Linked DNA regions of Homo sapiens: region 1 is linked to region 2. The links are contacts of gene promoters, found by promoter capture Hi-C in human tissues and cell types (Jung and others, 2019). All regions are on one chromosome and are shown on one strand. The core of a region is centred on a gene start or on the middle of the fragment in contact, and the rest is flanking DNA. Distances in the headings are between cores, read along the strand shown.

Region 1 (5,349 bases), core at 837-3,336, 44 kb before region 2:
AAAAGTAGGCAAGAAAACAAAGAAGAAAATGAAATAAGGAAAGTGGTATGGGCAGAAAAAGACTGTAAAAAGCTTCATATAAAAAGCAAACCGAGTTTGATGAGAAACAAGAATAAGTTGTAAATTCCTTTGGTTCAAAGGAAGAGGCATGGATGACTGACATGAACATACCAAATTGAATATAATAAACCAAATTGAAAGTAAACTAACACTAAAGAGTCTTTTAATTTATTGTCACAATAGAAACTATAATATCAGGCCAGGTACAGTGGCTCTTGCCTGTAACCCCACCACTTTGGGAGGCTGCGGGGTGCGGGGGGGTGGATTGCTTGAGCTCAGGAGTTCGAAACCAGCCTGGATAACATGGCAAAACCCTGTCTCTACAAAAAATACAAAAATTAGCTGCTTGTGGTGGCACATGCCTGTAGTCCTGGCTACTTGGGAGACTGAGGTAGGAGGATCACCTTAGCTTGGGAGGTTGAGGCTGTAGTGAGCTGTGATTGTGCCACTGCACTCCAGCCTGGGTTGATAGCAGAGTGAGATCCTGTCTCAAAAAAATAAAGAAAATAAAGAAAATAAACTATAATATCATAGGCACTATAGGAAAAACATTATTTAGAAATACATTTTTAGCTAGACATAGTGGCTCATGCCTTTAATTCCAGCAGTTCGGGAGGCTGAGGTGGACGGAACACTTGAGGTCAAGAGCTGAAAACCAGCCTGGCTGACACGGTGAAACCTCATCTCTACTAAAAATAACAAAATTAGCTGGACATGGTGGTGGGCACCTGTAATCCCAGCTACTTGGGAGGCTGAGGCAAGAGAATCGCTTGAACCCAGGAGGCAGAGGTTGCAGTGAGCCGAGCTGCGCCACTGCACTCCAGCCTGGGTAACAGAGTGAGACTCCATGTCAAAAAAGAAAAAGAAATCGATTTTTATGGTTCATCCGTTAAACTGAGAGAGACATCATCCGTTAAACTGAGAGAGACACGTAATCCAAAAATTCTTGCACTTCACAAGAACACTTAATGGATCAAAACTTAATTTGTAAGGGATAATTATGTTTAAAATGCACACACTTAGAAGTTAATGTCCCACCTCTGAGGCAGTGTGGTACACTGATAGCTGAGTGAGCTCCAGAGATGTCTGGAGAATCTACTGTTTGCTATAGTTACCTTATTAACTTACCAAGACAGTGATGCAAGTGACCAGAAGGGTGAACATTCAACTTCCACATGAAGCAAATTGAATTTTGTACATATGACATTTTCTATTACTGACCCCCACCCCCTAAAAAAAATCACAGCTTAAAAAAAAGCATGATATCTTTGGCAGATATGGATCTATTCAACAAATCAGGGTTGGGAACAAACAATCTGAAAACTGAAGGAAGTCCTTAAGAACTATAAGGACAACACTGATGTCAAAATGCATGTAACCTATCAGATTTTTCATTAAAATACCAACAAAGCATTTCAAAAGATAGGCCCAAAGAGGCAAAAGAAACAGATGAAACTAATCAAGGAGTGATGTGGCATCAATATAAATTCACTAAGCATTTCTCTGACTTTTTTGTTTGAAGAAAATTTAAAATACATGCATCCTTCCTCCCTCACCCCCACCATTTCACACCCAGATTGCTAAAATTTTTAAAGTCTGACAAAACCAAGAGCTGGCAAGGATATGAAGAAATGGGAACTCTCATACAATGCTGGTGACAGTATAAATACATGCTCTGGAAAGCAATCTGGCCACATCTGGTAAGTATGATGAAAAACCAAATACCCTATGATTTCTTATACCCTAAGAGAAAGCCTTGCACGTGAGTACATGGCCACAAAAAGAAATCAACAAAGATGTATCAAACTTCATTTGATAAAGCAAAAAATTGGACAAAATCTAAATGTACATCCATCCACAGAAGAATGAATAAATAATGTTATACAATACCACATTAGCAGTTAGATGAATCTGATCAACACAGATAAATTTACTGAAAATATTAGGTTAAAAAAAGGTTGTAGAAAGATACATAGAGTATGATGTACTATTGACATAAAATTTAAAAACACAATACAATGGAAAATATATATGATAAAGTATAAAAAGATGACAGGATACGCACCAAGTTCAGAATAGTCATTACCTCTAAACAAGGGAAGGTGCACAAGAAGCCTTCGAACACATTTGTGATATTTGACTATTAACAACAGAAAATAATCTGGGTTGGGGGAGCCTAAAAACTCTTATGCTAGTATTCATGCTATTATTTTTACCACTTATAGGGTATAATGTGATTAGGAAATTTCAGTTATTCTACTTATAAGGAATTTGCCTGAAAGAAAAGTCAATAAGAACTAGCCCAAAACTGTGATAAAAGAGGAAAAAAGTCAACAAGGAGATAAAAAGCACCTGAGAAAGAATGAATATTGCCCCTAAGACTAAACACAGTGAAATCAGGGTTAAATAATATTCAGGACCATTTTGATGGGAATATAATCATTTTTTAAACAAAACACATATAGTAATCTAAATAACATTTATTACCCACCACCACACATTTGGGAGGCTGAGGTGGGATGTTTTCTTTTTTGCTTTTTGTTTTTTGAGATAGGGGTCTCACTCTGTTGCCCAGGTTGGAGTGTAGTGGCGTGATCACAGCTCACTGCAGCCTTGAACTCCTGGGCTCAAGTGATCCTCCCGTGATATGGTTTGGCTCTGTGTTCACACCCAAATATCACCTTGAATTTTAATAATCCCCACCTATCAAGGGCGGGACAAGGTGGAGATAACTGCATCATGGGGGCAGTTCCCCCATGCTGTTCTTGTGACAGTGAGTTCTCATGAGATAGGATGGTTTTATAAGCACCTGGCATTTCCCCTGCTGGCCCTCATTCTCTTTCCTGCCACCCTGTGAAGAAGTGCCTTCTGCCATGATTGTGAGTTTCCTAAGACATCCGTAGCCATGCGGAACTGTGAGTCAATTAAACCTCTTTTTTAAAATAACTTACCCAGTCTTGGGTATTTCTTCATAGCAGTGTGAATACATCCCACCTCAGCCTCCCAAATAGCTAGGACTACAAGCAAGCACCACAACACCCAGCTAAGTTTTCATTTTTTTGTAGAGTCAGGGAATTGCTATGCTGCCCAGGCTGGTCTTGAACTCCTACCCTCAAGGGATCCTTTCCACCTTAGCCTCCCAAAGTGCTGGGATTACAGGCATGAGCCACCATGCCAGCCCTATTTTGTTAAATGGAATCTATCCAGTTGATGAAGCCAGAAATTCCTATCAAGTACATCATCAAATTCTACTATTCTACTCTAATAAGTAGCTTGATAATCTATCCACTACCACCTCTTACTTAAATATTTGCAACAGCCTCCTCCCTGGTTCTTCGTCCCTTGGCCCCAACCCAATCTCCATTCGGCAGCCAGAATGGTTTTCTAAAAGGAAAAATCATAAATTTCCCTTACAAACTTTTTAATAGCTCCGCACTGCACTCAGGACAGTTCAATCTCTTCCACATGGCTTACAAAGCTCTCCAAGAGATGGCTTCTGCTTACCTCTCTAGTCTCAGCTCTCACTACTCTCACAAAGCCAAACCCCCATATCCACCTGGTGCGTTCACCTCTTGAACTCTACATTAAGCCATACAAACTACATGTTAGTTATCTGAATATGATATGCTCTCTCCTTTTGACCTTTCTACATGTTCCCTCTGTCTGAAACACTTTTCCCACACCCACTCCTGTCTCCCTCTCCCCCATTTTTCTGGCTAATTCCTGGTCCATTAGATCTCAATTTTTTTAATGTGTATCTTCCAGGAATTCTTCCTTTACATCCCTTATGAGGTCCAGCAATAGGTTTCTTTTGATGTGCTCATATGGTATCCTGAATTTCTCCCATCCAAGCACTCATCTTACTATACTGTAAGAATGTTAAATACCCTAATGGCGAGGGTAGTGTATGTCTTGTTCATTATGTGTCCCCAGTACCTAACATAATAGCTGGCACATATTAAGTATTTAATATCTATGAAAACCTGAAACCAATTTTAAAAATAAGGTTATAATCTTATCAAAAGCGTTATAATGTATAATATTAGTAGAAACTGAAAATTTGCAAATTTGTACATTTTTGGAAGTTCAAATTAATGGAATTATATTCCAGCTTAACAGAAATTTTATTTACTATTATACCATGTTTAGTTTTTACCAACGGATACCTTCACCTCAAATAAAGGGAGATGAGCAAGAAAACATTTTGATTAACAACTCATCCCAGTGATTTTTTCTTACGGAGAAAATCAATTTCAATGTGAAGACACAGACAACATATTTTATTTCTGCAGCTGACAATAACAGGAGATAGTAGTGGTAATGAGTCACAAACTTTGAAAAAGTGAGGGACGGCAAAAGTAAATTATCATGAAAGCAACTGTAACTTAAAAAGAGGACTTTGCCAAAAATAGGTCAGAAAGTAGGATGTTCCATACTATGGAACACTTTAAACATATGTGGATACCCAAAACATCTTGGCTTTTAATTATTTAACATATAAACTTTGACTATCAATCCCTTATAGCTTTACATACAAAGCTTTCAAATAGTATTAGGTGTTCTGAATAAAAACATTTGGTGAAATGATAGTTTCTTTTCCTTACACACTAAAATTCCCTACTTAAGTTAGTCTCTATCAATACAAGCTTTCAGAGTAACAAGCTAGAAGCTAGAAGCATACCCGTAACTATTAAGCCCTAAGAGAAAGGGAAGGTGATTCTTTAGTCTTCGAAGGCTATGAAACAAACTACAATTTAAAATCTTAAAATGCAAGTCTTTTTTATACTAACATTGTGTTAATGGACTCAACAGAGAAGCTAGGTGATAGGTATTTTATAGAATGGAAGAATGATCTTACCTGGAAGATTACCCTTTGAGATGGTATCTGTATCCAAATTGTAGGTATCCTGGAGACGTAACAGAGCTTTGGCTGCCCCAACCTGATCTTCATCATTAGGAAAGTACTGTCTCTGAATGGTTAGGTTAGAGATAAAGCCTTGAAATAGATAAATCAAAGAAAAAAAAACTGTAGAACCTCATAAACTTCCCATAAAGAGACTTAATAAGGATTGTTCAAAATCTATTTTATTATTTTCTACCACACCATGAAAAGTTCTACATACTCAACAAGAAAAAATTAAATACACTGAATAAGACTTGGCATACTTCTAACTTGTTCAATCTTCCAAAAGCCTAGTGTTGCTTAAGGACTGTGACGCTGTTATATAAATTGTATCTGTATTAGCAGGTAAAGATCACCTAACATAATAGTTATGAGTTTTTAGTTAT
Region 2 (5,488 bases), core at 2,573-5,072:
CCATGCAAATCTTTTCATGTGCTTATGGGTCATTTTTCTATCTTCCTTGAAGACGTATCTATTCAGATTCTTTGCTCATTTTAAAATTTGGTTGTTTATCTTTTTATTACTGTGTTATTTAAGTGTTCTTTATATATTCCAGATAGAAGTCCCTTATCAGATACATGTCTTGCAATAATTTTTCCCAATTCTGTGAGTTATCTTTCTATATTCTTCATGATATTGTTTGTAGCACAAAAGTTCTTAAAATTTTGATGTCTTATTTTTTCCTTTGTTGCTTATGCAAAAAAAGCCAGATGAGATTTTAATAGAAATTGCATTGAATCTGTAGATCAATTTGGGGAATATGCCATTTTAACCAAATTAGGCCTTCCAATTTATGAACATGGGATTCTTTCAATCCTTCCAATATTTTCCAATATTTATGTTCAACTTCTCTACCTCACACCCAGTCAGAGATACAATCCAGGTCTATAGTATGGTGGTCAAAAGTACAGATTCTTTCTTAAGACAGATTTAGTTTAATATCCCAACACTTCTACTGATTAGCTGTGTAAATATGGACAAATTACTTTTCTTTTTTTTTTTTTTGAGATGGAGTTTCACTCTGTTGCCCAGGCTGGAATGTAGTCGCTCAATCTTGGCTCACTGCAACCTCCACCTCCTGGGTTCAAGCGATTCTCTTGTCTCAGCCTCCCGAGTAGCTGGGGCTACAAGAGCACGCCACCACACTTGGCTCATTTTTGTATTTTTAGTAGAGACGGGGTTTCACGATATTGGCCAGGCTGGTCTCAAACTCCTGACCTTGTGATCCACCCGCCTTGGCCTCCCAAAGTGCTGGGATTACAGGTGTGAGCCACCGCGCCTCCCCTACTTAATTTTTCTAAGCCTATGTTTTCTCATCTGTAACGTGCAATTTTTTTTTTTTTAGACAGGGTGTCTCTGTCACCAAGCTGGATGGAGTGCAGCATCATGATCTCGGCTCACTCCTGGGCTCAAGCAGTCCTCCTATCTCAGCCTCCTGAGTAGCTGGGACCGCAGGTGCATGCCACCATGCCCAGCTAATTTTCGTATTTTTTGTAGAGATGGTGTTTTGTCATGTTGCTCAGGCTGGTTTCTTGAACTCCTGAACTCAAGCAATCTTCCCACCTCAGTCCCCAAAGTGCTGGGATTACAGGCGTGTGCCACCACACGTAGCCTAAAGTACAAATTTTAATACAGATTTCATAGGATGTGAGGATTAATGACAAATATGTGGGACACTTAGCATAGTGCCTGGAACACAGCAAATGCTCAGTCTGAGCTATTTTTATTATTATAGCACTTAACAATTACTACAAAAAGTTATTTTGACTTTTTAAATTATTAGAGCCCCAATTTCCCCCTAAGCATCCTTAGAATCCATTGACTTTATATCTTGTTTCCCTACAATTTTCTGTGTCTTCCTTAAGGATAATGAACCAATCTGATTTTTTTTTTTTTTTTTTCAGACAATGTCTCGCTCTGTCACCCAGGCTGGAGTGCAGTGGCGCAATCTCAGCTCACTGCAACCTCTGCCTCTCGGGTTCAAGCGATTCTTGTGCCTTAGCCTCCCAAGTAGCTGGGACTACAGGTATGTGACACCAGACCTGGCTTAATTTTGTATTTTTAGTAGGGTTTCACCATGTTGGCCAGGCTGGTCTAAAACTCCTGACCTCAAATGATGTGCCCACCTCGGGCTCCCAAAGTGCTGGGATTACAGGCATGAGCCACCATGCCCGGCCTACTCTGATCTCATCTCTGATCACCATGCTCTTTCCTAGCCTTTCCTCAAACGGCACACTCCCACCCCAGGGCCTTTGCATATGCTTATTTTGCTCTGTCTACAAATCTCTTTCCATAGATATAAATTTGGTTTCTTCATCACCTTCTTCAGGGTCTTTGTTTAAATATTATCTTAACAATGAGGCTGACCATCCTATATAAAATAGCAAAATAATCCCTCTACTTATCTTGCTTTATTTTTCTTCTTAAGCTTTATAACCACGACACATTGTATATTTACTCGTTTGTTTCCCCTTCTAGAATGTAAGTTACATGAGGACAGAGATTTTCATGTTTTGTTCCCTGCTGTATCCTATCCCTATAACAGTCCTAGGCACATTGGGTACTCATTAAATACATGTTGAATGAGTGGACTTCTTCTCTTGGCTGGGTGCGGTGGCTCACGCCTGTAATCCCAGCACTTTGGAAGGCTGAGGCGAGTGGATCACTTGAGGTCAGAAGTTTAAGACAGCCTGGTCAACATGGCGAAACCCTGGCTTTACTAAAAATACAAAAATTAGCCAGGCATGGTGGTGTGCACCTGTTATCCCAGCTGCTCGGGAGGCTGAAGCAGGAGAATCACTTGACTCCGGAGGAGGAGGTTTCAGTAAGCCAAGATTGTACGTACCACTGCTCTCCAACCTGAGCGACAGAGCAACTCCATCTCAAAAAAAAAAAAAGTGTCTTCTCTCATAGGCAAGTAACTTCAGTAGTAAAACGAGAAGAGAGCAGCACCAAAGTAGCTCTGCTGAGAGGTGAAGCCAGCTGGACTTCCTGGGTGGAGTGGGGACTTGGTGAACTTTTCTGTCTAGTTAGAGAATTGTAAATGCACCAATCAGCACACTGTAAAAATGCACCAATCAGCACTCTGTGTCCAGCTAAAGGATTGTAAACACACCAATCAGCACTCTGTAAAAATGCACCAATCAGCGCTCTGTGTCTAGGTAAAGGATTGTAAACGCACCAATCAGCACTCTGTTTCCAGCTAAAGGATTGTAAACACACCAATCAGCACTCTGTAAAAATGCACCAATCAGTGCTCTGTGTCTAGCTAAAGGATTGTAAACACACCAATCAGCACTCTGTGTCTAGCTAAAGGATTGTAAATGCACCAATCAGCACTGTGTCTAGCTAAAGGATTGTAAACGCACCAATCAGCACTCTGTAAAAACGCACCAATCAGCACTCTGTGTCTAGCTAAAGGATTGTAAATGCACAAATCAGCACTCTGTCAAATGGACCAATCAGCACTCCATAAAATGGACCAATCAGTGCTCTGTAAAATGGACCATTCAGCAGGATGTGGGCAGGGACAAATAAGGGAATAAAAGCTGGCACCCCCAACAGCAGCGGCAACCTACTCGGGTCCCCTTCCACGCTGTGGAAGCTTTGTTCTCTCGCTCTTCACAATAAATCTTGCTGCTGCTCACTCTTTGGGTTCGTGCCACCTTTAAGAGCTATAACACTCACCGAAAGCTCCACGGCTTCATTCTTGAAGTCAGCAAGACCAAGAACCCACTGGAAGGAACCAACTCCGGACACACTTCTAGGAGACTACTTCCAGTCAAATGGAATGCGCTTCCTCTGATCAAGAAATGAATCCTACCATAAGTTCAAACATATCTATACATACCTATACAGAGTCCCATCCTTTTAAATTGGAAGAACTTCATGAAATTTTAGAGCTAGTTCTAAAGTGTGCAGAGAGAGAACTAGAGATATACTAAGGTTAAAAGGTATTTGATTCCCACCCCTGCTTCATCCTCTCCCCAGCCTCATAATATATGCCTTCTGTGTATGAGGGTGGACTTAATGACTTTATCTTTTTTTAATTAAAAAATGGATCTAATACTAACCTACTTTCTCCAAGGATACAGTAGTTCTCTTGGTAATAAGATCTTAGATGTTCATGCTTTTGACAATCATGGTTAACTTGCAGCTGGAGAACACAGCAGCATGCCTGGGAACTGAACTACAATTCCCAGAGTGCATCTCTAGGAGGATTCTGGGAAGTGTGGCAGAAGCAGCAATGGTCCCTCCAGGGAACGGAAGCCGTTGAACGTGAACATTTGGAGTTTCCTCTTTTGTGCTGATTCCTGAGGACTAGGAAGGTGCCCCGAAAAGAATTCAGAGTGAGTACAGTGAAACAGAAACCTGCTCAGCTTCTAAGTGCAGGAAGGACTTCACAGGGAGGCATGATCAGAACTTGAAAAAAGGTCGTGGTCACAGCATTTTAACATTTTAGCTTAATCTCTTCCTTTTTGCAGAAACCAGGGATATAACCATAGTTTTGCCTCATAACTGTGGAGCTACATCAGTAACCACAGCTCATCATTTTCTGATACTTTTTTGGAGAGTCATTTAAAAATGGAACTTGCCAACCTCTCACATTGTGCCTTAATTTTTATTTTTTTTTAAAGGAGGGAAAATTATTTTTTAGAAAGCAAACTATAAAGCAGGTCAGTGAGACCTTCAAAGCTGTATTCCCGTGGTTCCTCAGTTTTCCATATTTCCCTGTCCCATGGAGGTCCACAGTCGTGGAGAAACGGACTCTAAACACAGGCGAAGTATCACTTGGTCGCCCAGGCTGGAGTGCAGTGACACGATCTCCACTCACTGCAAGCTCCGCCTCCTGGGTTCATGCCATTCTCCTGCCTCATACTCCCTAGTAGCTGGGACTACAGGCGCCCGCCACCACGCCCAGCCACTTTTTTTTGTATTTTTAACAGAGACGGGGTTTCACCGTGTTAGCCAGGATGGTCTCGATCTCCTGACCTCGTGATCCGCCCACCTCGGCCTCCCAAAGTGCTGGGATTACAGACGTGAGCCACCGCGCCCGGCCTAAAAAAAGGTCTCTTAAATACTAGGGAACCTGGCCTCTTCACGGTGGAAGTAACCACTAGATTCAAGATGGGCTTTTTTTGTTTTGTCTTGTTTTGTTTTGTTTTTTTGTTTTGAGACGGAGTCTCGCTCTGTCGCCCAGGCTGGAGTGCAGTGGCGCGATCTCGGCTCACTACAAGATGGGCTTTTTTGTCACGCTGTAGTACTTTATAATCTTTCTTCTGGAAAGATGAACAGGATAAGAAACGTGTGAATCATTTGTGTTGGGGAGTTCAAAGAAACTCTTAATGTTAAAGCACCTTGCCTCATCATTTAGTAGTTGGGTAAGACTGCTATTACCTTTCATCTCTATCAAACATTGTACTTTTAAAAACATAAATAGCTCTGTGACCATCAGCTCATGAGTCAGCAGCCATGATAATCTACAACTGGCTAAGGTTAATTTAGTAGCAGAAACTAGGCAAAACATCAGGCAGCAGTTCCCAAGGTCCAAGAAACTCACCAAATGAATTCCCTTTGGCTCATGGAATATGGTGAGGTGTTTTGGGGAACAGTGGCATGGAGGTAGCCTCATTAACCAGTTAGTCTCAGGAACTACTATTTTATTAGGCTTTTCTTTTGTCTTAAAAGGAATAAGTACACATGGCTAATTTTTTTTTCAGTACAGAAAAATGAACAAAATAAAAATTACAGGCACCTTTTTCAATATTTGTCTTCATCCCACTCCCCCAAATTAGTCACTCTTTAATAGTTTGGTATGTATACTTCTAGTCATTTGAAAAATATAAATAAGGCCGGGGGCAGTGGCTCTTGCCTGTAATCCCAGCACTTTGGGAGACCCAGG

Evidence for each region. The method cuts DNA at HindIII sites, captures the fragments that hold promoters and counts their contacts. A contact is called where the count stands out against the background at its distance.
Region 1: a fragment that was not itself captured here is called in contact with the fragment with the promoter of NUDT13 in region 2 in 1 of the 25 tissues and cell types used here (adrenal gland).

The regions. Positions count from the first base shown.
Region 1 is chr10:73,063,928-73,069,276 of GRCh38, forward strand. P4HA1 (prolyl 4-hydroxylase subunit alpha 1) reads right to left here. Exons shown (of 15, transcript NM_001017962.3): 5 at 4,919-5,056. Among named protein-coding and RNA genes, the nearest start is that of P4HA1, 30 kb to the right of the region's middle. The HindIII fragment of the contact is 5,132 bases long and covers 1-4,652 here.
Region 2 is chr10:73,106,633-73,112,120 of GRCh38, forward strand. NUDT13 (nudix hydrolase 13) reads left to right here and starts at 3,823. Exons shown (of 9, transcript NM_015901.6): 1 at 3,823-3,935. RefSeq lists a silencer at 555-795. The HindIII fragment of the contact is 13,958 bases long and covers 2,603-5,488 here.